Regions from separate parts of the Homo sapiens genome. Here regions 1, 2, 3, 5 and 6 are each linked to region 4. The links are contacts of gene promoters, found by promoter capture Hi-C in blood cells and fetal thymus (Javierre and others, 2016). All regions are on one chromosome and are shown on one strand. The core of a region is centred on a gene start or on the middle of the fragment in contact, and the rest is flanking DNA. Distances in the headings are between cores, read along the strand shown.

What was found. The method cuts DNA at HindIII sites, captures the fragments that hold promoters and counts their contacts. A CHiCAGO score of 5 or more calls a contact.
Region 1: a contact is called between a fragment that was not itself captured here and the fragment with the promoter of HSPD1 in region 4, in 4 of 17 cell types (total B cells, monocytes, total CD8 T cells and 1 more). The highest score is 6.8, in total B cells.
Region 2: a contact is called between the fragment with the promoter of CCDC150 here and the fragment with the promoter of HSPD1 in region 4, in 3 of 17 cell types (monocytes, total CD8 T cells and non-activated CD4 T cells). The highest score is 8.1, in monocytes.
Region 3: a fragment that was not itself captured here is called in contact with the fragment with the promoter of HSPD1 in region 4 in 1 of 17 cell types (naive B cells); the score reaches 5.3 in naive B cells.
Region 5: a contact is called between a fragment that was not itself captured here and the fragment with the promoter of HSPD1 in region 4, in 1 of 17 cell types (monocytes). The highest score is 5.0, in monocytes.
Region 6: a fragment that was not itself captured here is called in contact with the fragment with the promoter of HSPD1 in region 4 in 1 of 17 cell types (monocytes); the score reaches 5.5 in monocytes.

Annotation. Positions count from the first base shown.
Region 1 is chr2:196,979,686-196,984,508 of GRCh38, reverse strand. It overlaps a transcript of ANKRD44 not described here. Among named protein-coding and RNA genes, the nearest start is that of PGAP1, 55 kb to the right of the region's middle. The HindIII fragment of the contact is 2,815 bases long and covers 889-3,703 here.
Region 2 is chr2:196,636,813-196,641,416 of GRCh38, reverse strand. CCDC150 (coiled-coil domain containing 150) reads right to left here and starts at 1,702. Exons shown (of 28, transcript NM_001080539.2): 1 at 1,639-1,702. The coding sequence starts at 1,650. It overlaps LOC105373823 (a long non-coding RNA gene), which reads left to right and starts at 1,732. Exons shown (of 2, transcript XR_923747.3): 1 at 1,732-2,021; 2 at 2,850-2,989. RefSeq lists enhancers at 841-1,378, 1,379-1,916, 1,901-1,950, 1,971-2,190. The HindIII fragment of the contact is 4,677 bases long and covers 1-2,909 here.
Region 3 is chr2:196,955,586-196,959,997 of GRCh38, reverse strand. No RefSeq gene overlaps it. Among named protein-coding and RNA genes, the nearest start is that of PGAP1, 31 kb to the right of the region's middle. The HindIII fragment of the contact is 293 bases long and covers 1,730-2,022 here.
Region 4 is chr2:197,496,435-197,501,089 of GRCh38, reverse strand. HSPD1 (heat shock protein family D (Hsp60) member 1) reads left to right here and starts at 1,250. Exons shown (of 12, transcript NM_002156.5): 1 at 1,250-1,308; 2 at 2,240-2,415; 3 at 3,698-3,950. The coding sequence starts at 2,242. HSPE1-MOB4 (HSPE1-MOB4 readthrough) reads right to left here and starts at 711. Exons shown (of 9, transcript NM_001202485.2): 1 at 651-711; 2 at 1-16. The coding sequence starts at 653. It overlaps HSPE1 (heat shock protein family E (Hsp10) member 1), which reads right to left and starts at 711. Exons shown (of 4, transcript NM_002157.3): 1 at 651-711; 2 at 1-16. The coding sequence starts at 653. RefSeq lists an enhancer at 591-650 and silencers at 791-850, 1,041-1,370. The HindIII fragment of the contact is 3,758 bases long and covers 1-2,591 here.
Region 5 is chr2:196,746,247-196,750,572 of GRCh38, reverse strand. No RefSeq gene overlaps it. Among named protein-coding and RNA genes, the nearest start is that of GTF3C3, 51 kb to the left of the region's middle. The HindIII fragment of the contact is 4,567 bases long and covers 1-3,792 here.
Region 6 is chr2:196,766,886-196,771,427 of GRCh38, reverse strand. GTF3C3 (general transcription factor IIIC subunit 3) reads left to right here. Exons shown (of 18, transcript NM_012086.5): 16 at 1,389-1,513. Among named protein-coding and RNA genes, the nearest start is that of GTF3C3, 31 kb to the left of the region's middle. The HindIII fragment of the contact is 1,794 bases long and covers 2,396-4,189 here.

The DNA of each region.
Region 1 (4,823 bases), core at 1,047-3,546, 520 kb after region 4:
CAAAAGCATTAAGCTAAAAGGCTATTAACATAAAAACATTGTGGGTAAAAGTACTATATGAATTGTCTCTTTAGCAAATTTCATCCTGAAGGTACATTTGCTGTAAAATATAAAGCACCAAGATAATGGCTGTGCCATTCATTAATTCTCAGGCACTCTAGGGAGTGATTGGAAATGTGTGGGCATTTGTAGTTGGCACAATGGCTGGGGGGTGGGCAGGGCTGCTACTAGAGTATTTATAGTTCCAAGCGCCAGGGAGACCAAATGTGCCACTCAACCCAGGGAATAACTGCGCCACTTAGAATGTCAATGCTCCTCTACCCCACTGCTCACCTATTTGCCTTTCTCTTGTTTCTGAATCATTTCTTCATCAATGTATTGCTTATGACACTAGCCATATTGCCTCATCTATTTTCACAAGGGATTGCATAAACATACTTTATATGCCCTCAGAACGAGAACTTACAAGGTTGAGAAAGAACTTTGGAAGGCAATGCTGAGCACATGTGCCCTGGTTATGTATTTTTCCAGGGGAGAAGATTTGCACAGATCAAGGCATCTTTAATTCCTTTGTTATCAAACCAAAATGTGGCCATACACATGTATATTTCTTGTCTTAAGCAAGAGGTGATTGTATCTACTTTCCCAGTGGGGGGAACTCCTGCTCACAAAGGTGGGGCACTTGGCCCACCGTCACATGGCAAGCTCTGACAACACAGTACTTCAGCCTCACAGGGTTCTCTAGGCACTGGTGGACACAATTTCTAGGATACTATTTTCTGCTTTTAAATGTCAATTTAATGAAGTACTGTGTATTACATTCTGGAAGAATTTTATAATTTTCAAAAGTAAAAATACTGAAGCAGTACTTTTAGAGCACAAAAAGCTTACCTGTGTTTGCATTGAGTTGAAAGTACCCAGCAAATTCGTGAACTTTATTTATATTTTTTATAGTTGGGGTTCCTAAGAATTACTAACATTTAAACTCAGATCCTAACCACAAGAAATTACCAGCTATGCAAAGATCAGAGGAGAGAACATTCTAGGGAGAGGAAAAGGCTAGTGCCAATACCCAAAGGCAGGAATGAGTTTGTTATGTTCTAGGAACAGAAATGGGGCCAGTGTGGCTGGAGACTCAAGGGAAAGGGAGGGTGGCAGAAGATTAACAGCGATCTCAGCCCAGACATAAAATTTTGTGAGCTGGGAGGAGTTTCTATATTTTTCTGAATGTGACAAAAGCCACTGGAGAAATGTAAGCAGAAAAATGGCTGTGGTCTGATTTTTTTTTTCTGTCATTTTTATTTTTTATTTTTTATTTTTATTTTAAGTTCTGGGGTACATGTGCAGAACATACAGAATTGTTACATAGGTATACATGTGCCATGGTGGTATGCTGCACCTATCAACCCGTCATCTAGGTTTTAGGCCCCGCATGCATTAGGTATTTGTCCTAATGCTCTCCCTCCCCTTACCCCAACCCACCAACAGGCCCTGGTGTGTGATATACCCCTCCCTGTGTCCATGTGTTCCCATTGTTCAACTCCCACTTATGAGTGAGAACATGTGGTGTTTGATTTTCTGTTCCTGTGTTAGTTTGCTGAGAATGATGGCTTCTAGCTTCATCCATGTCCCTGTAAATGACATGAACTCATTCTTTTTTATGGCTGCATAGTATTCTATGGTGTATATGTGCCACATTTTCTTTATCCAGTGATTTCATTTTTAAAAGATCACTCTGGCTGCTGTTGAGAGACAAGAGAGAGAAACCCTAGTGACCAATTAGGTAGCCACTGCAATAGCCTAGACAAGTAAATATAGTGGCTTGGATTGTCTGGCAACAAGGGAAATGAAGAGACTGTGACACATTTTGGATATGTCTTGAAGGTAGAGTTGACTGAATTTGCTGATGGCTTGAGTCAAGTAAACAGTAGAGTTTGGGGAAGAAGCCAGGGCTGGGATCATATGAAATTGTAGACATGTGAAAGTTGATTTGGAGTCATTCCTGTCCTACCCAATGAAAATGGAGTCAAGGAGCCTTTGTTGGGAAAGAGCACTCTGGTCACAAACGTCTTCCAAAAACTGTCTCGCAAGTTTACTCCAAGGAAACAGCCTGCTATGACTTCAAGGCGAACTTTACCTAGCAGTTGCTGCCACCTGCCAATCAGAGCTCACCAGCGCCCACTCTGCTATCGCCAATTAACTTTCTTTGAAAACAACTTACATCTTCTTTCTCCTTTCCCAATAAAACTCCAGCCCTTTCCTTTGTTCTTTGGACACACTGGAAACTGCCCTGGTCTCTGTGTGCATGTCCTTATTGCAAGCCTACTTTCTGTATATTACTCTCAAATAAAATCCTCTTGCTTAGAGATTTGTCTCTGCATATATATATATATATATATAATTTTTTTTAGTATTGACAAATGAGAAGAGATTCCCTCAGGAATAAATGATAGAAGAGCCCTGAACTGTGCACACTCCAGCATTTAGAGGTTAGGAAGGGGAGGAGGAGGATCTAGCAGCGAAGACAAGACATAATGGTCAGAGGCAGGAGGAAAACCAAGAGACCAAGATGTCCCTGAAACCTGGGAAATAAAGGGTCATAGAAGAAGGAGTGTCAGTGATTTCTATTGTCTCAATTGCTTCTGGGAAGTCAAATGCAGAGAAGTTGACCAATGGATTTGGCAAGATAGAGTTCATTTATGTATTTATTTTATTATTATTATTATTTTGAGATGGAGTTTCACTCTTGTTGCCCAGGCTGGAGTACAATGGTGCGATCTCAGCTCACTGCAACCTCCACCTCCAGGGTCAAGCGATTCTCCTGCCTCAGCCTCTCAAGTAGCTGGGACTACAGGCACACACCACCACACTTGGCGGATTTTTAAAAAAATTTTTAGTAGAGATGGGGTTTTGCCATGTTAGCCAGGCTGGTCTCGAACTCCCAACCTCAGGTGATCCACCTGCCTCAGCCTCCCACACTGCTGGGATTATAGGTGTGGGCCACCACGCCCAGCCTGGAGAGAACATTTTAGAGTAACAGAGGAGGGTTACTGAGTAGGATTTAGTACACTCAAGATTTATAATCATAAATCTAAAATGATACCAGTCATCCTGGTGGATTTTTTCATCAGATGTTTGGGTGTAGGCATAGAGTAAGAAGACAGTGGAATTTAACCTGGTATAGAGCTTTGCTAGGTAAGTCCAAAGGGAGAGAGGGTTATGGAACTGTGGTGCTTTTAATGGATGTGATTATGTAGATCATGGATTCTAAACTGGGTAAGGAAGAAAGTGAAAACATGAGGGAGGTGATGGATACTGAAAAAGTGGTAGTCAATGGGGGTCAGGATAAGACAGAATTATTGAATTGTAGCCCCAGAGTTGGTGATCTTGATGTGGAGTGCCCAAAGTAAAGATTTCACAGGTGGTATAGTTTTGAGGATGACAAAGCAAAGGATATAACCATGGGAGTGGGTGGTTGAGAATGACTGAAGAAAAAAAAGCATTGGATGTGAAGAAGTAAAAATCTGAGGAGGCCAACATGACAAATAGGAAAAGCTATTTATCATAGAATTGAAGCAAAATAAATGAGAACATTTAACTACTTCAAAACATCTATTATTCAGGTATTTTACTTTAAGTAGATGGATACTAAGAGCTGATTTACTGTCAGGCTGAAATTCGGTTCCAGGATTAGGATGAAGCTTTTAACAAAGTAAAAATGGTCAAGTGCATTTCTATTAAAAAACTAACCAAACCTTGGCTATGACAGAATGACAGGTTTTATGACCATATGGTTTAACCTAAATGTGTTTATGAGGCTCTCCAGAAAACATGACAGATGGCAAAGAGCTGCAGAATGAACAAAAGGAGAGTGTGGTTCAGACAACGTCTTAGTGATAACAATGAAAAATTGAATACTTCCCAGCGGGCCTTCTGCAGAGGACAAAAGACTGAAATTATTGGAATTCTATATTGCTGTTTAGGTGAAAATTAAATTTGCTTTAAAACATTAACTTTTCCTGAAAAATCTCAATTTTAAACTAAATAAATAGAAAGCTAACGGGTTTCTAATTCCCTTTTGAATTTCTTTTTTTCAGAAATGATTTATCCATTCCATGTTTTATTTCACATTCTTCTTCAGGCCTGAAATTTACTCCTTACTGTTTTATTATTACTTAAAACTTGTAAAAAATTTTGTTAGGAGAATGTTACCTGGTAATTTATTGATTTTCTGCTTAACTTCATTCACAAGGGTCTACCCATTAGCATGTAAATTTTGATTAGGCTGCTGAGCCCATTTCCTTTTGGCATCAGTGCTAAAAATGATGATAAAGGGCTCGGTTGGTGCCATCTGGGTGCTTGCATTGTGATGTTACAGCTAACACTAGAAATTAGATTGAGAAAACCAATTAATTTACTGCAATGTCATTCAGATATTGAAAAAGAAAAGCCTTTCAGAGTGCTAACAATAGTTCCTAGAGATAAGAACATATTTTCTAGTGTATATTAATGATCATTTTCCTTGCCGCCAGCCTGGTGATCTGAGAGTGTCCTGGATGGTGTGGAGCAGGGGACAGTGTTGCTAAGATGCTGGTTGTGACAAAAACCTTTAAAAACCTTTAAACTGCAAATAAAAATCACCTTATTGGCCGGGCACGGTGGCTCATGCCTGTAATCCCAGCACTTTGGGAGGCCTAGGTGGGCAGATCACCTGAGGTTGGGAGTTCGAGACCAGCCTGACCAACATGGAGAAACCCTGTCTCTACTAAAAATACAAAATTAGCCGGGTGTGGTGGCACATGCCTGTAATCCCAGCTACTCGG
Region 2 (4,604 bases), core at 453-2,952, 860 kb after region 4:
AAACAGCAAGTGCAAAGGCCTGAAGTTAGAAGGTCTGATGAGTCCGCACATAATAAAGAGGTGGGTTTGGCTGGAGAGGAAGGAGTAACACAGAGAACATTGAGAGATGAGGTCAGACGGTAATAATAAAACCAGAATACGGCTGGGCGCGGTGGCTCACGCCTGTAATCCCAGCACTTTGGAAGGCCGAGGCGGGCAGATCAAGAGGTCAGGAGATCGAGACCATCCTGGCTAACACGGCGAAACCCCGTCTCACTAAAAATACAAAAATAAAAATAAAAAAAAAATTAGCCGGGCGTGGTGGCGTGCTCCTGTAGTTTCAGCTACTCGGATGGCTGAGGCAGGAGAATGGTGTGAACCCAGGAGGCGGAGCTTGCAGTGAGCTGAGACTGCTGCACTCCAGCCTGGGCGACAGAGCGAGACTCCGTTTCAAAAAAACAAAAAACAGAATACACAGAGCCTTGAAGGCCATTGTAGAAGTCTGGCTTTTGCTGTCAGTGATTCTCAGAGTCACTGGAGGTCTATAGCTGAGGAATGCTATCCAACTTTCCTTTTAACTGGATCATTTTGACTCCCTCCCACTCCAAATGGTGGAAGAACAAAAGCAGAAGTAGAGATGCTGCTGGCCAGAACCAAGGTGACAGCAGCGGTATTCCTACTGTAAGAAGTGGTTAGTGGTTAGATATACTTGAAAGATAGCTTTTGCTGATGCATTAGATATGAGATATGAGGGAAAGGAAGAAGCCAAGATTACTACAGGGTTTTTGGCCTGGATGGTGCTATCACTGAGACAATGCAAACTTATTAAGGAAGAATCCGTTTTGTGGAAAAGATAAAGAGTAGTTTTTAAAATGTCAAATTTAAAACATGAAAGATACCAAATACATTATTGAATTTGTGGATCTGAAGTTTGGGGGTGAGGTGTGGACTGGAGACTAATTTCTGAAGAGCTCAAGAAAACCATAAGGCGGGATAACAGAGAACACAAAGGATTAAAGGACCTAGTCCTGAGCACGCCAAGATTAACAAATTAGAAGCATGTGTTGGGGGGCATTTAAGACGGACTAATACGAACTTCTCTAAAGTGGGGTTAAAAATAGACATTTTTCTATCTTTAGAGCCTAATACAGTGCCTGGGAAATTATAGGTGGTAAATAAACAGGAGAATACTTCGACAGGAATTTAACGAATGTCTATTCCGTTCTAGCAAGAGCGCCAGGTACTGCGGAAACCGTAAAGAACAAGTGCAAATTCCTGACACCTATATTCTGGTAAGCAAGCCAGGGAGGATTAACTGGTGGCAAAAATCAAACATTAACGCCGAAATAGCCTTCCCAGGAACCTATTAAACTCCAACTTAACACATAAATAAAGGTGGTATTGGGCTTATCTGGAGGCTTCGGTGGCTATCTCCCATCCCTCAGCTGGAGCCAGGCCAATGCAAACTTCGCTCCTAAATGGCTTTCACCGGCAGCCAACGCCAAAGCGCCTTAAATCAGGGCCCTGAGGTCCAGGGAGTGAGACTGGACTCCGTCAGGACAGGGAGAGGGCGCCAGGGAGTGGTGACTGTCCTTATCTGAGCCGAAGCCTCGCGAGCCTCCGACCACCCCTCACCAGCCCGGGGCCCGGCAGCCTCACCTTACAGTCCATCTGTCCGCCTGAGGCTCCGTACTGCAGCAGGCGAGCGGGTTTCCGTGGAACTAACACAGCATTTTAAACCAACCCGCTCCCCGGCGCAGTAGCTCCGGTACGCAGGCGCACCCGTGGCAGGGCATGTCGGGAACTGTAGTTTTCCCGGCCCAGGAGGGCCCTCAGCCCTGGGCGGGACCCAGGCCGGCATCCGGCGGCGCTCAGGGAATGCGTAGCGCCGTGAACCGAATGGCGGCAGGCTCCACTGTGCTCGCGAGCGGGGCACGCCGGGATATGTAGTTTCCGGCGCCTGCCCTCCGGGGGGTCCTGTGCTGCCCACTTCACAGTGACTTGTCTCCGCCTGGTGAACTCGCGGTGTTCTGCTAATCTTGGTAAATACATACCCTACAGCAGAGTAACGAGCATAAAAATTGGTTAAAAATTCAGAGCTTAAACATTCTTCTCGTTAAAGGAAAAATCAAGTCCCTCTTCGTCCTCGTCCATGATGGCCACATGGAGAGTAAAACACAGAAATCTGTTTTCAGGTCTTTCGTCTCTTCAGCATAAATTATTTCTTGCCCTGTCTACAAGTTAATAGGTATTTGTAAATCTGAGTGTAAGTAGCTATGAAACGGAAAAGAGCATTGAGCTGTCCCTGGTTTTTTTGGTGGTTTGCTTTTTTGAGATAGGGTCTTCCTCTGTCGCCAAGGGTGGATTACGGTGGTGCGATCTCGACTCACTGCAGCCTCGACCTCCCGAGCTCAAGCGATCCTCCCATCTCAGCCTCCCCAGTATCTGGGACCACAGGCGCGCGCCACCACGTCTGGCTAATTTTTGTATTTTTTCGTGGAGGCGGGGTCATCACCATATTGCTCAGGCTGGTCTCTTTGGGCTCGAGCCATCCGCCCACCTCGGCCTCCCAAAGTCCTGGGATTACAGGCGTGCATCACCACACCAGCGTTTCTGAGTTGTTTTGCTTTAAGAATATGTATTCTCACTTAAGGGAAAGCCTTCTATAGTGCAAAGACGCGGCTTTGCGTTTTGGTAGCTGGACAGAACACCTGTTATCCCTGCCAGGGCAATTAAAATGCATTTCTCTCTTCTCCCTGAGAGTGCAGCCAAGAATCACTTCAGCCCTCTCATATAAGCAATCAGATCCGAGATGAGAGCTCATTTACTTAGCCTGACAATTGATCTTGCTATTCTAATTCTTTTCATAGCGGAGCCTCAATGTGAGATGCAGAGACTGCCCATCAAACCACAGCCATATTCATCAAGCTTTGAGCCGATCCGGTGAAGAGAAATGAGCACTGCATACATTATTCAGAGAAAGGGACCAAATAAAGCTTTTAATAGGAAATGAAAATGTATTTTAAAGCGTCAGTGCAAACAGCCAATTATTTTCATTATGTATGTTTTATCTTGCAATGACCTCTGGTTTATCAGTGGAATTAAGAGATGAGTGATACATGTATCCACGTGTTTTTGTGTAATGAGAGTTTTCACCTTCTCCTCAAATCTCCATATTAAGCAGCAGTCAGGGAACCAAACTGATTAAATTCGTGTTTTTCATTTGTTTTCCCTTATTCACTGTCTGGCAAACCGTATAAGAACTTAAGCAATTACAGAGTTAGAGAAAAGGACCTGAAGTCTTCAATAAACTTGAAATCAGGGAGTATAGTCCTCCAACTTTGTCCTTTTTCAAATTTGTTTTGGCTGTTCCTTTAACTTTCTAGTTCCTTTACCTTTCTCCCAAATTTTTTGAATCAACTTGTTGATACCTACAAAAATTCTGCCAGGATTTTGATTGAAATAATGCCAAACATACCGATTTTCTTGCTGATTTCCCTCTTGATTTTCAGTTGATAAATAGTTCTCAGACATTACCCCATTTATCAAACAAGATCATTTCATTCACGGAAATCCTAGATATTCCATGAAGACCACATTCTGTTTCACTGCGATAACCTCCTAACTGGTTTTCCTATTACCCCTTCCAAAGTATCCTTCATATGGCTACCAGATCTTTTAAAAAAGTAAATCTGATTATCTCAGGTCTTTGCTTAAAAACATTTAATCGTTCCCCCATTGAACGAAAAGTTTTCCATTGAGCAGGATGAAGACCAAACTGGTAATAGCTTCAGCCAAACCCTCCAGCCTACTCTGCACCTAGTGCCCCAGTGGAACTCTGAAGTCAAGCCTGCTACCATAGAATGTCTTTGTGCTTGCAGGTTATGCTCACTCTGCTGCGCACGGCCTTCCTCTTGTCAGTCTCACCAGCTCAACAGAAACTTAGCCTCTTCTGTGAAGCCATTCTATTCTCTCCCAAAGCACTTCATAATTGTCAATGTATCTTATTTCCCCTTATTTGAGCTGTAAGCTACTTAAGGACAGGAATTTGTTTTTTTCTTTTCAACACCAAGTACAATGCCCGGCACACAGTAGGGGTTTGGAAAGTTTTTGTTAGGTGAGTGAATGAATAAATTTTGAAACGGCTCTACTAATAGAGGCTGTGTTTCACTCTCTACTTGTAAGCCAGGAAAAGGCCTCCAAATAGAATATACGCTGCAGATGATTTGACATTGTAGTTACACGAATGGCAGTAAAGTTCCCTGCAACTACTTCCCCTTGGAGTTGGAAATGTATTCCGTGGACAAAGAAATGCAAACAGAACACCCAAAGTTTTCATATCTTGTTGGTAAAATAAAAGAATAAAAATGGCAAATTCACTAACTGGCTCCTCACCTTATGTGGGCAATCCAGATATTTTGGTAAAGTATTGGCTCTGGGTATAGAGATTAGGATTTGAAAGAGTCTTTGGCTTTTTAATGAACTGGTGAATCAGCCCAAGGCTGAGAAGATAATTCTTTTTTTTTTTTGAGACGGAGTCTCACTCTGTCGCCCAGGCTGGAGTGCAGTGGCTTGATCTCTGCTCACTGCAAGCTCTGCCTCCTGGGTTCACACCATTCTCCTGC
Region 3 (4,412 bases), core at 627-3,126, 540 kb after region 4:
AACAATATCTGGCTACATCAGCCAGTGCTTTGCGCAGGCTGAAGAATGGAGAAAGTTCACTGAACTGCTGCTATGCACTTTATTGCCATAGCTCTGGGCAAAACCTTCAAGTGGTTGCATTTTGTATGCAGGATTGCTGGCCAAACTTTTGAATTATGCTACACAATGTCACAGGCCATTTCAGCTGGCGTCCAGACACTCCTAGTATAAAAACAACCACCAGCACCCACTGTACATTTTCTCTCATTGACATTGCTGGGTGCTTTTGTTTGGTAATAGCTTGGGGCAGGGAAGAGGGGTGATGAGGATAATGGAGACGATAACATGACACTGAGGCCATTGGGTGGATTGTGAGCCCCTAGAACTACAGAATATTTTTTTTCATGAACAGGACTTGCTTTGGGGCCCAGATGTCAAAGAGTGACACAGAGTTGGAGAGGGCCATTTTTTCCCACCTCCCTGTGGAATCCAGTATTGTTCTGGCACATGTGATGGGGACTTTGGAGACATTGGGAGACAGTATTCTCAGCACATTCTTGGTCAAGTGTTTCGCAGTGGACTTCCTCAGTGAAGGCAGTGATAAAAATTTCTTCCAGCTGCTTGCCAGGACTTCATGTTGACAGATGAGAACTGGAGCAGACAAGAAAAAATACTAGGGATGCTCCAAGAGGGCCAGGACAGAGATTTCTGTAGGACTCTGTTGTATCCTCTCACATAGTATGCACTCAGTACCTATTAATTAAGTGGGTGGATGATTCTAGTAGTGATTAAAGCTGATAGATTGGTTTGTGAATATGAGGAAAGCATATGTTCAGGGACTCCCAGAAATAACCAGGACCATTTTGAAGAAAAATAGCTACTGTTTAAAGAAAATAAAATTTGAATCCCATTATAATTTATACAATGTGTGACCTAAATTTGTTTCTACAGGTAAAGTGTGTGACCACATTTGTTTCTACAGGTAAAGATAGGTGACAATTGGATTAGAAATATTTTCTAAACCACAATTGGTAAAATAACTTGTAAGAAATCAATGATCTACTTGGCTTTTTTTTTTTTGGCAGGAGTATAAACATCATTTATAAAATTAAGTCATATTCATCGTGGTCTTGACTAGATTTTTCCATAGGATCTATAACTCCATACCTAAATTATCCTGTTTCTAAAAATGTAGTGATAAGTTTGGCTCTGTGTCCACACCCAAATCTCATGTTGAGTTGTAATCCCCAGTGTTACGAGAGGGACTTGGTGGGAAGTGATTGGATCATGGGGGTGGATTTCCCCCATGCTGGTCTCATGATAGTGAGTTCTCACGAGATCTGATGGTTTAAAAGTGTGTGGCACTTCCCCCTTTGCTCCTTCTCTCTCCTGCCACCATGTGAGGAAGATGCTTGCTTCTCCTTTACCTTCCAACATGATTGTAAGTTTCCTGAGGCCTCCTAGTCATGCTTCCTGTTAAGCCTGCAGAACTGTGAGTCAATTAAACCTCTTTTCTTCATAAATTACCCAGTCTCAGGTAGTTCTTTATAGCAGTGTGAGAACAGACTAATACATGCAGTAAATATGCTTAAGGAACAAAAATTCTATGGATACGGTATAATTTACTGAATGTTTTTGTCCTCTAGCTGGATTAGTTGAAACTGAAGCCAAATGTGTGACTACTTAAGGCTGTGAATGCTTAAAGACTTTGAATAGCCATTAGAGTCTGTTCAACTGTAACTAATAAGCTTCCTTCTAGTTCTTAGACTTGGTTTATCACAGAAGTTCCTGTTTGCATTTTAAAATTCATTTCTAGGTAAGGTCTTGGCTAAGGAGAAGAAGGAAGGAAAGGAAGGTAGATTCTGTTTGGATTTTAAGGTCAGGCAGTCAGTTTGGCAGCTGGGCTTATATAACCTTTAACTTCTCCTAATTAGAAATTTTCAAAGTACCTGGCTCTCCCCAGGATGCCAATTTGCTAGAGAATCTGCTTGCAGCCTCCATGTAATCAATTTGAATCTTTAACCAACAAAAATAACAAAAGCTTCAGCTCCATGAAACAAGCTATTCTCCATTGTTTGACTCATTGTGAGGCTGGGGTTAACCTCACAATTTTAAACTCATTCATCTTAATGTACACCCTATTCAATTACCCCCATGTCCTACAAATAGGTCAAACTTTCATAAACCTTCAGAGAGAAGCCAGTCATAGAGGAGAAGTGTTTTCCTCTCACTGGTGTTTGAAAGTAACTCTTTTAACATCATTTCCAGATAAAGGTTTTAAAAATACGGCCAGGCAGGGTGGCTCAGGCCTGTAATCCCAGGGCTTTGGGAGGCCAAGGCGAGAGGATTGTTCAAGGCAAGGAATTTGACACCAGCCTGGGCTGGTCTCTACAAAAAAATTAAACAATTAGCCAGCATGGTGGCGCACGCCTGTAGTCCTAGCTACTTGGCAGGCTGAGGCAGGAAGATCACTTAAGTCCAGGAGTTTGAGGTTACAGTGAGCTGTGATCACTCCAGCCCGGGTAACAATGAGACTCTGTCTCTAAATACATATATATAGAGTCTCTAAATATATATATATTTTTTATATATAAATATATTGATTGACCTCTCATGTCTTTATATATAAATATATATTATATAATATATAAAGACATGAGAGGTCAATCAATATATATATTTATATATAAATATATATATATATTTAGAGACAAATATGTGTAAGATGTACATTGGTTCACTCCAGAAAGGTAGGAGAGATCACAGGTAGATAAGAGACAATGGGTTGCATTTATATATATATACAAAGTTTGTTATTCTTTTACTATGTGAGAATGACAATTAAGTTGTTAAAATTAACAATCCATTGAATATCGGTTGTGATAAAGAAATCAAGTATCTTTTTAACAAGAAAGTGAAAAGCAAAGGGAAATTTCAGCTTGTATTAAAAAACTTAAGAGCTCAGTTTATTTCAATATAGAATTTCAGGATAATGTGCTAGAGTGTGAATGTACCCATGATTCTATAACTTTCCATGCTTGTCTTCATCTTTTGTAACTTTATCCCCTTCCATAGTTCCAATTACTATTTATAGCCTTTCTAAAGCTGAGTTCAGTAGCTTTCCTTCCAACTTCTTTCTTTACTTTAAAAAAAAAAAAAAAAAGTGGTCAGGTGAGGTGGCTCACACCTTTAATCCCAACACTTTGGGAGGCCGAGGCAGGTGGATCACCTGAGGTCAGGAGTACAAGAGCAGCCTGTCCAACATGGTGAAACCCCATCTCTACTAAAAATACAAAAATTAGCTGGGCATGGTGGCACATACCTGTAATCCCAGCTACTCAGGAGGCTGAGGCAGGAGAATCGCTTGAACCCAGGAGGCAGAGGTTGCAGGGAGCCGAGATCGCGCCATTGTACTACAGCCTGGGCGACAGAGCAAAACTCTGTCTCAAACAGCTTTAATAAGGCACAATTCACGTAACATTACTATTCACATACCATACCGTTCACCTTTGTTTTAAAGTTTACAATTCAGTGGTTTTTAGTATATTCACAGGACTGGCAACTATCACCACAATCTAATTTTAGAACATTTTCACCACTCCTGTGAACCCAGAAAGTATCTGAGACAGGTCTCAATCAATTTAGAAAGTTTATTTTGCCAGGTTTAAGGACGTGCCCATGATAAAGCCTCTGGAGGTCCTGATGATGACACTGCCGTTGGAAAATTATGACTGAGACAGTGAAAGACACCTAACCGGGGAGACTGATTTGAGTAATAATAAAGCTCCGATCCCCTGCACAGCTGGCTCTGCATGAATTACCCTTTCTCTATTGCAATTCCCCTGTCTTGATAAATCGGCTCTGGCCAGGCAGCAGGCAAGGTGAACCCACTGGGCAGTTACAATGACATGTGCCCAAGGGGGTCAGGGCACAGCTTGGTTTTATACACGTTAGGGAGATATAAGAGATCAATCAATATGTGTAAGATGTACATTGGTTCACTCCAGAAAGGCAGGAGGGATCAGAGGTAAATAAGAGACAAAGAGTTGCATTCTTTTGAGTCTCTGATTAGCCTTTCACTGAATACACAATTTACACGTGAGAGGTGGGTAGAAGAATAGTCACTTATGCCTTAGTCTGGCTCAGTGATTTGTACATAAACAATAAGGCAGAGGAAGCAATCAGATATGCATTTGTCTCAGGTGAGCAGGGGAATGACTGTGACATCAGTCCTTTATCCAGCACCTGTGAAGATTAGCTACCAATTTACGTTGCCAAGGTAAAATACAGCATAACTGTTTTAGGGTAAAAATCTTGAGTCTCACAAGGAATTTTCTTGTGGGCAAAGTGTGAGGGAGGTATGTATTATGTTGGTGCAAAAGTAATTGTGGTTTTTGCCATTTAAACATAGGAAAAACCACAACTGCTTTCGC
Region 4 (4,655 bases), core at 1-2,500:
TAAACGCTTGTCCTGCCTGTAGGAAGAGAAATGTTTTGAAACAAAAACTAAATGTAATCACATTATCAACAGGCAACGCCACCGTGCTATACATCTCAACACGTTTTGGCTTTGAAAGTTAACACCAAACCTCAGCTTATTCGTTAAGGAAGCGCATTTGAATGTACTAACCAATATTCCAAGTTTAATTCCCGATTCCTTACGTCTGTTAGGGGTCGTTGTCGCTCCTCCGGTGAGCAACCAGACCAGCTTTAAGGTCAACCTTAGTTTATTCCAAGGTCAAATGTTTTCCTTCTTCAGGTTTTTCCAGAAATTTTCAGGAAACGCTGGGTCAAGCTCCCTGCCTGGCACCATGATTTTTACCCAAGATATTACACATCCACAAAGGCCCTGCAGAAGCAGGTGAGACGCTGCGCGTGCGCCCGGGTTCTCGCCCCCCTGCCTTACACACCGGCAGCACACGCGCGTGCAAAGAGCCCTGGGGGAGAAAAGGGTCGGGCGGGCCTTGCCGCTCCAAGGTGCCATCGGGCGCTGGTCACTGAGTGGCCACCAATCCCTCCCGCCCAGCCCAACAAAAGAGGGGCGTCAGGGATCCCCGTACGCCTCAGACAGGCCCGGGCCTGCAGGCCTCGGGGCCACGCGGGACTCACCATTACTCCCTCCGCCTCAGACTCGTACTCTGCTCTAGTGTAGCGCCGCAAAGAGACTCGCAGTCCGGCCCTGGCGACACGTGAAAAAATCACCCAGCGCGCAGGCGCGCTCGCCCCAGCGGTCGCCGCTAGCCCCCTCGCCCCTCCCAGGGAGGGAGGGCGGTCGCCCCGACGCGCACCGCGATTCGCCCCAAGGGCCCTGCGCAGGACGCTGACGCGAAGACTCGGAGGCGGAAGAAAAAAGGAGCTGTTTCTAGGCTTTTCTAGGCGCCCAGCCGAGGTGAAAGAACTACCCCTTCGTCCCCTCCCGGAAATGACGCGATTTGACCCTTGAGCCGTAGGGAGCGCGGCATTTTCTGGAAAGTTCTGGAACCGAGCGAGGCCCGGGAACTAGACTAAGCCGGCCGGAGAGGGCTGAGCGCGCTAGCACACCCTGCGCGGGTAGGGAGGGGCGGGGCTCGCGCGCAGGGTGTGCAGATTGCAGGGCCCGGGCTGACGGGAAGTGGGTGGGAGCTGCCTGCACACGCGGTGCCGCGGGGCGGGAGTAGAGGCGGAGGGAGGGGACACGGGCTCATTGCGGTGTGCGCCCTGCACTCTGTCCCTCACTCGCCGCCGACGACCTGTCTCGCCGAGCGCACGCCTTGCCGCCGCCCCGCAGGTACGCGGCCTTCCCGCACCACCTCCCCCCGGCTCCTGCGACCCCCGAGTGGGCCTTCCTCCTCTGCGGTCCAGCTGGAGGGTGCGGGCGGCGACAACCTGGAGTTCCGCACCGCGCCGCACCGCAGGCCCAGGCCTGCGGGTCCAGGCCTCGCGGGTCCATGCGGGTTCCATCACGTGCGACGCGGATCCTGGACCTCGGCTGGGCGCGGGAGGGACAACTCGTGGGGTTTGAATTTGGGGGATTGTAACCACTTAGGCCCGCTGGTGCAACCTGCGCCTGGCCGACTTCAGGGAACCGGGGAGGGTGGTGTACGTGAGGGAACCGCTTTTTTCCCCCGCAGGCAGCTGGGATACCGCGCCTCCAGTCTTGACCTTGCTGGGGGCGTTCGGAAAGAAGGACACGTGGGCTCGCGCCGAGTGGGCCGGGCCGCCGCCCCCAGCATCGCGGCCTTGCTGGTTGCTCTGATACAGTAGCCTTGGGTGGATCCATGGAGACACTTTGCTGAGCGGCTTTTTGCACCGTCAGGAATACTTTTAACTTCCCTGGTCACTTGGATTTGTAACTTGCCTCTCTCCGGCTGACTTGGTTTCTCAGGGGCCACAGTTGGAGTGGGTCTGCCCACAAGGCCGTTTTCGCGGTGAAAGATTAACTCGTTTTTGGCGGCAGGGATAGGTGGCCGTGGGGAAGGAGCCGCATGTGCTTTGTGCTGGTGCTATAGGTCAGGCGCCGGCCGGGGCGGCCTCTTTAGCTTGCGCTAGTGGCTGATGTTCCGAAGCTGCGGCGCCTTCCGTCATTCAGGCGTAGTGGCTGGCGGAGGTCAGCCAGGCTCAGCATCTCACGTTGCTTGCTCTGTTGCACAGGTGGGCATGTTTGTTCTGCAGCGCACCACGGGTGGTAGTTCTGATGATCTTTTTGCTTCCATCCCCAGAAATGCTTCGGTTACCCACAGTCTTTCGCCAGATGAGACCGGTGTCCAGGGTACTGGCTCCTCATCTCACTCGGGCTTATGCCAAAGATGTAAAATTTGGTGCAGATGCCCGAGCCTTAATGCTTCAAGGTGTAGACCTTTTAGCCGATGCTGTGGCCGTTACAATGGGGCCAAAGGTACCAGTATTTTTATTTTATTGTAATTACGGTATTATTAATAGCATTTTACTCACAAATAGTCGCACTGAACTATTCAACAGTACTTTCATCTCCATTTTTGAGAGAACTCAGTTTACATGTAAGAATTCTGAAGTATTGGTTAGCCTTTTTTTCTTAGACATGATCTTAAAGCTTAAACTGCTTCAGCCAGATTTTCGAAACTATTTTGTTCAATGTGTGATGTAATCAGGTAGTAACTTACAGCTCAAGGTGGATTCTTAAACTCGAGGTAGAATTTCGCTGGCTTAAGTTAAAATTTGGATCCTTTCCCAGTAGTTCATGCCAAGTGTAGAGAGAAGAGTTTAACTTATCTTCCATAATTCCTTAGGTATGTGCTTGTAGATGCTAAATTTTTTTTTGGTTTATTGTAGTAAAATGTACACAACATAAAATTACCATTAAGTGTGCACTTTGGGGACATCAATTACATTTATGTTGTGCAGTCATCACCACCATCCATCTCCAAAACTTTTTATATGGAAAAATTGTAACTTTGTACTCATTAGACAGTAGCTTCCCATTCTCTCCTCCACCCCAAGATGCTAGTTTTACCCATCGGTTTTCTGCTGTTCTCTTGTTCCAAAGCATATTTAAAATAAGTCTCATTTAATAGGGGTAATGTTTTGAGGAGGCCTTTGAAGGTGGTGTGCAGTCAAGTGGTGCTTCATTTCAGTTTGAAGACAGTTCAGATATCAAGTGATCCAACAACTGCCTAAAATACAACATTTGCACACCTCACAAATAGAAAGTAGCAGCTTTAGTTCAAATCCAAAGGATGGCCAATAATTGTGCCATGGTTGAAGTTTTATGTTGCGTGAACCTGGAAGAGCACGCTACTTGCCTTGATGGTTAATATTTTAGTTAAACGGATTTTAAAACAAGTCACATTACTTTAAAAGATAACAGGCACTAACTAAAGTATAAGTGATAGGAAGATTGTTTTATTCTTTGTCTTGTGTTCTTGTTCATTTTATAAGATGACAAGTTTTAGTCCCTAGGATTTTAATCTCCTAAATTACCTAGTTCAAAATTATGCTCTTGGCAGAGAATCAGGTCATTTTGTCTGTAGACAAAGAATGTCGATAAACTTGCCCTTGAGGTTCATGCTGCAAGACTGATAAAAATGACACAACTTACGTTGAGACTTTGAAGTAGTTGCTTTATTATGAAGACTGCTCATTTTTAAAAATGTAAATCATCCTTAGGGTATGTCTGATCCTGTTACATTTTTTTCTTCTAGGGAAGAACAGTGATTATTGAGCAGAGTTGGGGAAGTCCCAAAGTAACAAAAGATGGTGTGACTGTTGCAAAGTCAATTGACTTAAAAGATAAATACAAAAACATTGGAGCTAAACTTGTTCAAGATGTTGCCAATAACACAAATGAAGAAGCTGGGGATGGCACTACCACTGCTACTGTACTGGCACGCTCTATAGCCAAGGAAGGCTTCGAGAAGATTAGCAAAGGTGCTAATCCAGTGGAAATCAGGAGAGGTAGGAATGTCTGTTGTCACCACAGTGTTCTAAACTTCAGTGTGCTTTAAGGCATTGATTCCTTGGACCTAAGGAAAGTGTTAACTTGAGGAAATTAATCCTTCTCTCATTCCTCCTCTTGGCCTGGAGAAATCTTAAACTGGGTTTTCCTTTAGCAAGCTTGGCTGTATGGTGGGTAGGTACTGTTAGGTAATTTTGATATTTTACTTAGTTGGTTTCTTTTGTTTTTAGAGACAGGGTCTTGCTCTGTAGCCCAGGCTGGACTGCACTGGAACTCCTGGGCTCAAGCAATCCTCCTGCCTCAGCCTCCAAGTAGCTGGGACTACTACAGGCACTCACCACCATTCCTGGCTAATTTTTAGTTTAGTTTTGTAGAAAGTAAGACTAAATACACTGGATCATTCAGAATGTCAGAAAGTAATGTTTTCCTCAGTTTATTTTTTCTTAATAGCACACACCATGTTATTGGTTTGTGTTTTGTTAGTGCTTGTAACTAGAGTGCAACTTAATTAACAATTTGCTCCTCCTCATGAGGTTCATGGCAGTATAGACTTAAATTCTAGTCCCATGTTTGTCATTTATTAGCTGTGTGCTAAGACTTGGTTTTCCTATCAGCAGAATTGCTATGTATATCTAGGGTATGTTAGGGTTCAAACCAGGAACCCTCTTGTAAGTGAAGGTGGGGGGAGCTATTGGTAATTTTTT
Region 5 (4,326 bases), core at 260-2,759, 750 kb after region 4:
CTCTTTCTCTTCTTCAAGCATCTGGAGAAAATTGCTGTTAAAGGGATTATGTGATTAGGTCAGGCCCGCCAGGATAATCTCCCTTTCTTAAAATTAACTGTGACATACGATCTAATTACGGGAGTAAAATCCATCACTTTCACAGTCTAGGGATGATGCAGGCATGTTCACCAGTGGGCACAGAATCCTGGGGCCTCTCTTAGAATCCTGCCAACCACACCACTTCCTTGTCACCTTGCTAACTGTATTGGTTTCTCAATGTCTGACAGTCTTTTGCCTTTGTAAATTCTTTTGATCTTTTGGTCTTCTGACCTTGAGGATATTTTGTCTTTGAAATTTAATACTTTTGGCCGGGCGCGGTGGCTCACGCCTGTAATCCCAGCACTTTGGGAGGCCGAGGCGGGTGGATCATGAGGTCAGGAGATCGAGACCATCCTGGCTAACAAGGTGAAACCCCGTCTCTACTAAAAATACAAAAAATTAGCCGGGCGCGGTGGCGGGCGCCTGTAGTCCCAGCTACTCGGGAGGCTGAGGCAGGAGAATGGCGTGAACCCGGGAAGCGGAGCTTGCAGTGAGCCGAGATTGCGCCACTGCAGTCCGCAGTCCGACCTGGGCGACAGAGCGAGACTCCGTCTCAAAAAAAAAAAAAAAAAAAAAAAAAAAAGAAATTTAATACTTTTATTAGAATGTGTCTCAAAGTTGATCATTCAATTTTTCCCAAGTATTAGGTTGGTGCAAAAGTAATTGCAGTTTTTGCCATTATTTTTCTTTTTTTTTTTTTTGAGACGGAGTCCCTCTTTGTCACCCAGGCTGGAGTGCAGTGGCATGATCTCGGCTCACTGCAACCTCCGCCTCCCAGGTTCAAGCAGTTCTCCTGTCTCAGCCTCCTGAGTAGCTGGGACTACAGGTGCCTGCCACCACGCCCGGCTACTTTTTTGTATTTTTAGTAGAGACAGGGTTTCACCATATTGGTTAGGCTGGTCTCAAACTCCCGACCTCAGATGATCCACCCGCCTCGGCCTCCCAAAATGCTGGGATTACAGGCGTGAGCCACCGTGCCAGCCTGCCATTACTTTTAATTGCAAAACTGCAACTACTTTTGCACCCCAACCTAATACTTGTTAAACACTTTAAGTTTATAGATTGATTTTTTTCTTGTATTTTTGAAAGTGCTCTTGGATTATAGTTTTAAAAATAACCTCTGTTAACTTAATTTTCTTCCTCAATAACATAAATATTACAGTTTTCCATTCCATTACTTTTTCTCTAATCTTTTTTATTTCTTCTTTTGTCATTTTCATTTTCTTGGTTGTTTTCCTGGCTTTTTCAATGACTCTTGCTTTTATCTCTGATTTCTGTCCACTTCTGTCCACATCCTGTTTTTGAATTTGTTTCACAATGTTTTTTCATATCCTCAAAGTTTGTCTGAATATATTTGTTTGAAGTGTTCACTTTCAGTTTCTTCTCCTTTGTAATTGTTTATTGGGGAATTTTTTCCTAATTTGATATAAGGGAATTTCATTTCTTGATTTCTGGCAGTAGCTCTGTATGAACTTTCCTCTTGCTCCTGTTTGTGGTATTGGGCTGTTTATCAATATTTCTAGTTTGTCATGTCCTCTTCTGTGAATGTAGCAAAGTCCAGGTGTGTGCAAAGTCCAGGTGTTTTTCCAGGTGAGAGAGAGAGAGAGAGAGAGTGTGTGTGTGTGTGTGTGTGTGTGTGTGTGTGTGTGTGTGTGTGTTGATGATTGTGGGAAGGGTTCTGAGTCCTTTGATTTTATGCTTCTCTTTTTTCTTGCTAAGCCCTCTTTTCCTTTCCTTTTTTTCCTTTCTTTTTAACAATCCAATTGCCAAAAGGGGCTTTCTCCCTTTCTTTTTGCCTTTTCAGAAGCTATGCCCTTTGCCTTTAAACATGCCTGCATCTTTAAATCCTATGTATCCTAAAGTTCCTTCCCTGTAGTTCATGCTGTCATCTGCCTGGACACTTTTTTTTTTTTTTTGAGTATTTCCAGACTTAGGGTCCATTTAGTCTTTGTGGTGGTAGTTTCAGATCAACCTTGGACCCCCGCACTAGCTTCCTTTTTCTGTAGTCCCTACAGTTTTTCTTGCTCTGCCTTTGTTTGCTACTTTGTGGTGAGGTGAGGGTTGCGCAGAAATACTCATATGACAGAGTGTGGAGAGGGGTTTGGTGATTTTTCTCTTTTTACTTGGATATTTTGAAGATTTGGCATTGTCCATCTTCAAATTATGCTGAGGGTGTGTTTTTTATGTAGAACTGACTTTTCCTGTCTTGTTGCATATTGCTGGTGGAGGAAATACTGAGAGGTAGGTAGCTATGCAGCTGCCATTGTCTAGCTACCTGGAGGTTCCTATATTTAGGTTATTAAAGAATCAGTTTTTAAAAACTTCAGGAAGAACTTGACAGCTTGTGGGTATCTTATATAAATGCTCTAAAGAAAAAGGGGTGTCAGTATAAAAGAATAACCCAGCACAAGCTCAGAGCTCTCTGGCTGCAGCATTAATAAAATTCAATAGTGACCACCTTGGTGTATTTTCTCTACTTACAATCTTTTGACTGTTGGACATCTGTGGTTTTGGTCTGACCTAACACCATTTACCCTTTCTTATGAGAACATCACCTTGATTTGCTTTGGGAAACCATCCTCAGTTTCAGAGATGGAACATGGCACCCAGACCCAGCATCAGTGCATAATCCATCTTTCAAGTCACAGTGATTGGTTGACAGTAGGCATATGACCAGTCCAATGAGACTCAATATTATTAGAACTACAAAAAAAAAAAAAAAAAAAAAAAAAGCAAAGCTGTCTTTCTGTTGAGGTTGGTAAACAGAAAATATTCCATAGTCTATTTTAGTCTGCTCTACACTGTACATTGTTTCTGACCATTTATAAAAGGGCTTACAATTAGAAAGTGATTTATAAAGTCTCTATTGTCTAAAGAAGTCCAAGGCAGGGAACACAGGATCACATGGTATAGTGCCAACTTAAGCCCCTTTTGCTCAATGACATGACTGATCACCAGATAAGAGCCAGAATAAATGCTCTTGAGAAGAGCGATGCCAAATGTTAAATAGTTGGCAAATGTCTTAGCAGTTTTGCCCTTCTTTCATATAGTATTCTGGGGTAGAACCAACAGATTAAGTAAAGAAAGCCTTATCCTCTCTTTTTATTAATGGGCCTAAATCTAAATTTCAGAGTGTCATAAGAAAAAAAGTAAATTGAAACATTAAACTATTTTAGAAAACATCTAATATGTGAACAAATGTTTTTGGGTAGCCTTAAAAAGTATACAATCTAGAAATCAATAGGACTTATGGTTCTTTATATAAAACTGATCTCTGACATAAAACTAGACCAGAAAGTCTCCTGTTAAGAATGGAAAGACTATTGAAGAAACGAGAAGATAGTGTAAGTAAAAGGATCACTGAAAGAACAATGGTCTAATACTGGGTCAGAAATTGAAGGATACCTATCCAAAACCTGCCTAATGATGCCACTCCAAGGGAGACATTAGTTCACAACAACTCCTTCTCCTTTCTCTACACTCCCAAGTAGAACAATATAGCATTCTTGTTGATCTTAGTGTCCTCTACAATTAATCCCACCACTATGGAACATCGGATCCTTCAGAGAGGAATTTTAAAGTTGTCCAAAATGCAAAAAGGCAAACTGACTTATGAGAGATTTTGTCTTAAACTCAACTGTTTATGACAGATAATAGATAATAGAAAAAGATAAAAGGTGAATTTTAGAATGCATAATGATTATAGAAGCTTGAGGGGAAATGAACTTTATTTGCTTTGGTTTCCTAGAAACAATAAAAAAATGAGAAATTACAATACTAAGTCCCAATCTGTAGCTGATACTTTGGGATCACTGTCAGGACAATACCCTTATATTCTCTGTGACACCTATAGATTTCATAATATATACTCCAGCTCTTACATATGATCAGAGTATAGCTGACATTAGAATATACCACTAATCTCACTAAATACCTCAAGCAACTACCAGAGAAATAGCTATGGTACAAGGGCAAAAGACTCCACAGACAGATTAACTGGAGCAAAGTCAATTACAGTACAGATGGATTCTTCCTAGATTTTCATAAATCTCTTTTTGTACAAACATGAAAATGTTAGGCCATGCTCTAGGGGTGTTAATTGAACACACTTAGAAGAAGCACTGCCTATCCCTTAATTCAGTGGCCATGGCTTAGCCTCCTTTCCTCAGAACAATGAGTTCACTCAAAAAATTAGTCAAAGCATCTACAAATCTTGTATTAGGATCAATATCCTAATTAAGATTT
Region 6 (4,542 bases), core at 2,043-4,542, 730 kb after region 4:
AGGTCTTATAAAATTCATTTTAACGGTCAACAATTCTCCCTGCTTAGGCCTATTTATTTTTAAAATGATTTTCATTAATTATGGATGCTTTTGCCACCTGATTTTAATTTGCCATAATGCAAAACATTCAAGATTTGCTGAAAGTTCATTCCTTCAGGAGCTAAATCTATATTAAGATTTATTTATGTGGTGGTTACTAATTCTAATTAAACTCAAGGAAACTTCATTAATCATTTATAATAAGGAATTTCTGTAATAAGGAATCAGAAGTAAACAAGTATTACTTGCAGAGTCTCCTTTTAAAAAAAAATTAAAGAAGAAGCAAACAAGTAGAAAAACATCTAACTAACTAAATGTTTAAACTTAAAATTAGGCATGCATGTCTTACTACCTAAAAGGTGGTGTTGCCAGATTTACTTCTTATGAGTAAACTATGGTTTTTGGCTATTTGATACGTTCATGATTCCTTGTATATGGCCCGTATTTTTATCATCGTTCATCCAGTAACCTCAAACATCAGATGTTGAAACATTCCTCTTTTGTGTGTGCTTTGTGGAATTGTTTTATATTAAGAAAATAAAAATATTTTATTTTCCTATATTAGAAACTTTTACAAAAGGTTAAAATGATAGACAAATGGCAGTCTACCATCTTTGCTGCCTAAGAGATTCTGTGGTGCCATTCCTTCCAAAATAGAAGCCAGAAGGAAGAGAAATTTTCATCTATATGTGATACATTATATGTTATTCCTTTATGAGAAAAACTTGCTTAAATACCCCTACTGCATATGATTAGGCTTTTGACAAGAGATGATTGTATATATGGAATACATGTAATTCATAAAACTCCAAATTCTTATTCTGTTATTGGATACATTTAGCTTTCTCAGAAAAAACAAATAATTGCTACATTTGGGAAAACAACACCTGTAGTCTAAAAAACAAAACAAAGCTTTCCTCTTCTCACCTCCATGATCCACCACATTTGAATTTATAAAACAGATCAGTTGATTCTATAAAAATGTTCACCAAAACACACCTCCTCCATTCTTTTCAAACTAGATTTAAGGTCATAAAATAGATTTAATGATTGCAGCTGATAAATTGTTTATTTTGGAAGTATTACTTTACATGGAAATGTCTAGCTGTGCCTAGAAAAAGTTAATTTAGTTCCTCATATGAATCTTCATGGTCAGCATACATTCATGGGGAACTTGTTTTATTTTATACATTGTTTTAAAATTCAAATTAATAGGTCTCTGGTTGCTATTTAAGATAGAATGTCCACCTTATGTATGTTAAAATCAGTAATGTTTGGCCTTAAAAGTGTTGAAGAAATAAATAACTCTGTTCTTGTCACACCGTCTGACACCACTGCTTATTTTCCAGGACAGTATGTGCAAGCCTTTCGCACTCACCCTGACGAACCTCTCTATAGCTTCTGTATAGGCCTAACCTTTATTCATATGGCATCTCAGAAGTATGTGTTACGGAGACATGCTCTTATTGTACAGGTAATTCATTCAAATTTCTCGTTACTTGATTTTATGTTTCTTAAAAATGAATATACTTAATACTTTTTTTAAAAATCCTGCTTCAAAAGTAATACACAATGCTCTCAGTACACATGACGGGGGTCCCCAACACTTACCCCAGTGTTCAGCACTCAGCATATAATTATACTCATGATTAAGACTTATTACAGCGATATAGTAAAGGTACACAGCCAGATCTTTAGGGACAAAGACACAGGCAGAATCTGGAGGAATGCACTGGCAGGCTTCCTTATAGTCTGGTCCTCAAGGTCTCTAACCATCTGAGGTACTGAAGATTCACTTAAAGTAGTTGAAAAAAAAAATTATACAATAATATGATTGTGCCTGTTTCCTTACACCATCACCAACAAACTGTCCTTTTAAAATTTTCTTTGTGGTTCTTATAATAATTTGAAATTATGTTTCTTGTTGTCTACCTTAATGGCTTGTCTCTTCTAATAAAAGTATAAAGTCCAGCAGATCAGAAATATTGTTCACTACTTTGCCTTCAGCATTTTCATTTCTGTGACTTCATTTTTGTATGTTTGATGTTTCCAAAATATGATATGGTATAGACATGTCTTTTATTAAGTAGTAGGTGAGAAAAGAAAGAAAATGTTGACTTGAATGGAGTTGCAGGGTCTAGTAAGGGGCTTTTTGTTTCTTTTAAAGTAAAATGGTTAAAATAAAGCCTGCATTAAAATGGTGATAACAGTTGAAACTAGGTATGAGTTCATTAAGGTGGTCTCTTTACTGTTGTATATTTGAAAATTTCTATAATAAGTTTTTTAAAAATCCTGAAAAACAAAAACTTCTAAATTTTTCCTTTTTTATATTCTTATCTACCTTTTCCTCAAAGCTTCTTTTTCTTCCTTAATGGATACTATTTGCTGTACTAAGTAATGTAGGATTGTGTATAAATTAAACGTAGTGCTCATTGTGTGCCAGGAATCGGGGACGTAGCAGTGAGTAAGTACACAGATGGAATTTCTTGCCCTCATAAAATTCTGGTAAAAATTGATAGGAAAATTTTATGGATTAACTCATTAAATATGTAAAATATGTAGTTTTTGGGCTTGGTAGGACAAAAATTCATGTACTTCAAAGTAATATGGAAGCTAAATTTCAAATTACTTTTATAGTTAAATAGGAGGTTTCAAGTGGTTGGAGGTAGAGATGAAACAAGAGGTAATGAGAATATGGAAGTTCATTGGACTAATCTCTTTTGTGTATGTTAAACATTTTCCATAAAAAAAGTTTCTGAGAAGCAGGTTTTATTGTAAATAGCATCATTTCTGAAACTTTTAATTTCTCTTATTTTTCTTTCTTCTTGCTACAAGACTATAGTTTTCTATTATACTACCTAAAAAAATTTTTTTTATGGTTTATTATCTTTCTTACCTTTATATTGTATTAAAAGTAAAATCGTCAATGTTTCATTACTTCTACTTTTATTTAATATTGTATAGACAGTGAGTACATTGGGCCCTTTAGTGATTAATTTGATTTAAATGTTTGAAATGTAACATAATGTCAAAAGAACTCTTTTCTTTTCAATTTAAACTGTGTGTTTTTGGCGAGGCACAGTGGCTTACACCTGTAATCCCTGCACTTTGGGTGGCCGAGGCGGGTGGATCACTTGAGGTGTCAGGAGTTTGAGACCAGCCTGGCCAATATGGTGAAACATGGTCTTAATAAAAATACAAAAATGAGCCAGGTGTGGTGGCGTGTGCCTGTAATCCCAGCTACTCGGGAGGCTGAGGCAGGAGAGTCGCTTGAACCCAGGAGGTGGAGGTTGCAATGAGCTGAGATCACACCACTGCACTCCTGTGTGATAGAGCAAGACTCCATTTGGGAGAACAGAACAGAATAGAACAATAGAATTTGTTTTGCAGTTTTTAAATTTGATAATTCACAGTACCTACAAAGTGGCTACCCACATTGGCTAGTTTTTAAATCACTAAATATTATTTGAATAGTCTTTCAGGTTATCCTCTTAAATTTGTTAAACATTTCTTAAAGGGCAGCAAGTTATTCCATTATTGTATTAGGGGACCTACAGGTTCATTTGCATTACAACAATTCATCTGAGATTACTATTCCTTTTTCCTCATATTTTTATCTTTAAATTTGTCATTTTTAACTATGAATACTTGATATTTCTTTGCAGTCGAATAGTCTGCTGGTACTTAAGAGAGCTGTGTCTTTCAGTGGAATAGAGGTCATAGTCACACAAATAGGTTATTTTATTATGCAGAAAGTATGATTTGTATACTGAACACGAGTATTACTACCCCTAAAATGCATTCATTTAAAATAATTCATTTTTATTATTTACCTATTTATAAAGGAAAATTTGTGACCACTTATTATATAGCAGATCATCTAGAGAATAATTACATTTTATATTCTATATTCATAAATTGATTTATTCTTAATTATCTGGTAATATATTTGATTACTTAATTAGGACTCAGACCTTTGCAATTTGTAATTTCAGTGAATGATAAAAGCTGAAGCTCTATTAAAAGGGAAAGTGAATATGGGAAGAGGTAAAGAAACAAGTTGCTTTTTGGACTGTGTGACCCACAGGGAGCCAGCGTCATTGTAGCTGTGCTCTGAAATAGTTTCTCCATAGTCTTTGAGTCAGAAGCTTTCAGGAGAAAAAAATCCAGTTTTTTTGGGTTAAGAGGTTATCAAGGTCCTGAGAAGTAACTTATAAAAGGTAAAATTTACCCTAAAAGGTTAAGTATACTCAAGTGAATTTGCTCCTGAGAGGAAACCTTTGTACATTATCATTATTTTATATCTTGCTCAATCTTTTAGGCGTCAATCTCACATCAAAAAGTTTATTGGCCTATAACGGCACAAGCCAACTTCAAATTATTTTTTAAAAGTTTTGTGTATTTGTAGATTATGAATCTCTGGTAACTACTTGTAACATTTGGCTCTGTTTTCTGTGAATATTTATCCCTAGCTAAAAAAAATTCTTACATCTTCAGAAGAGC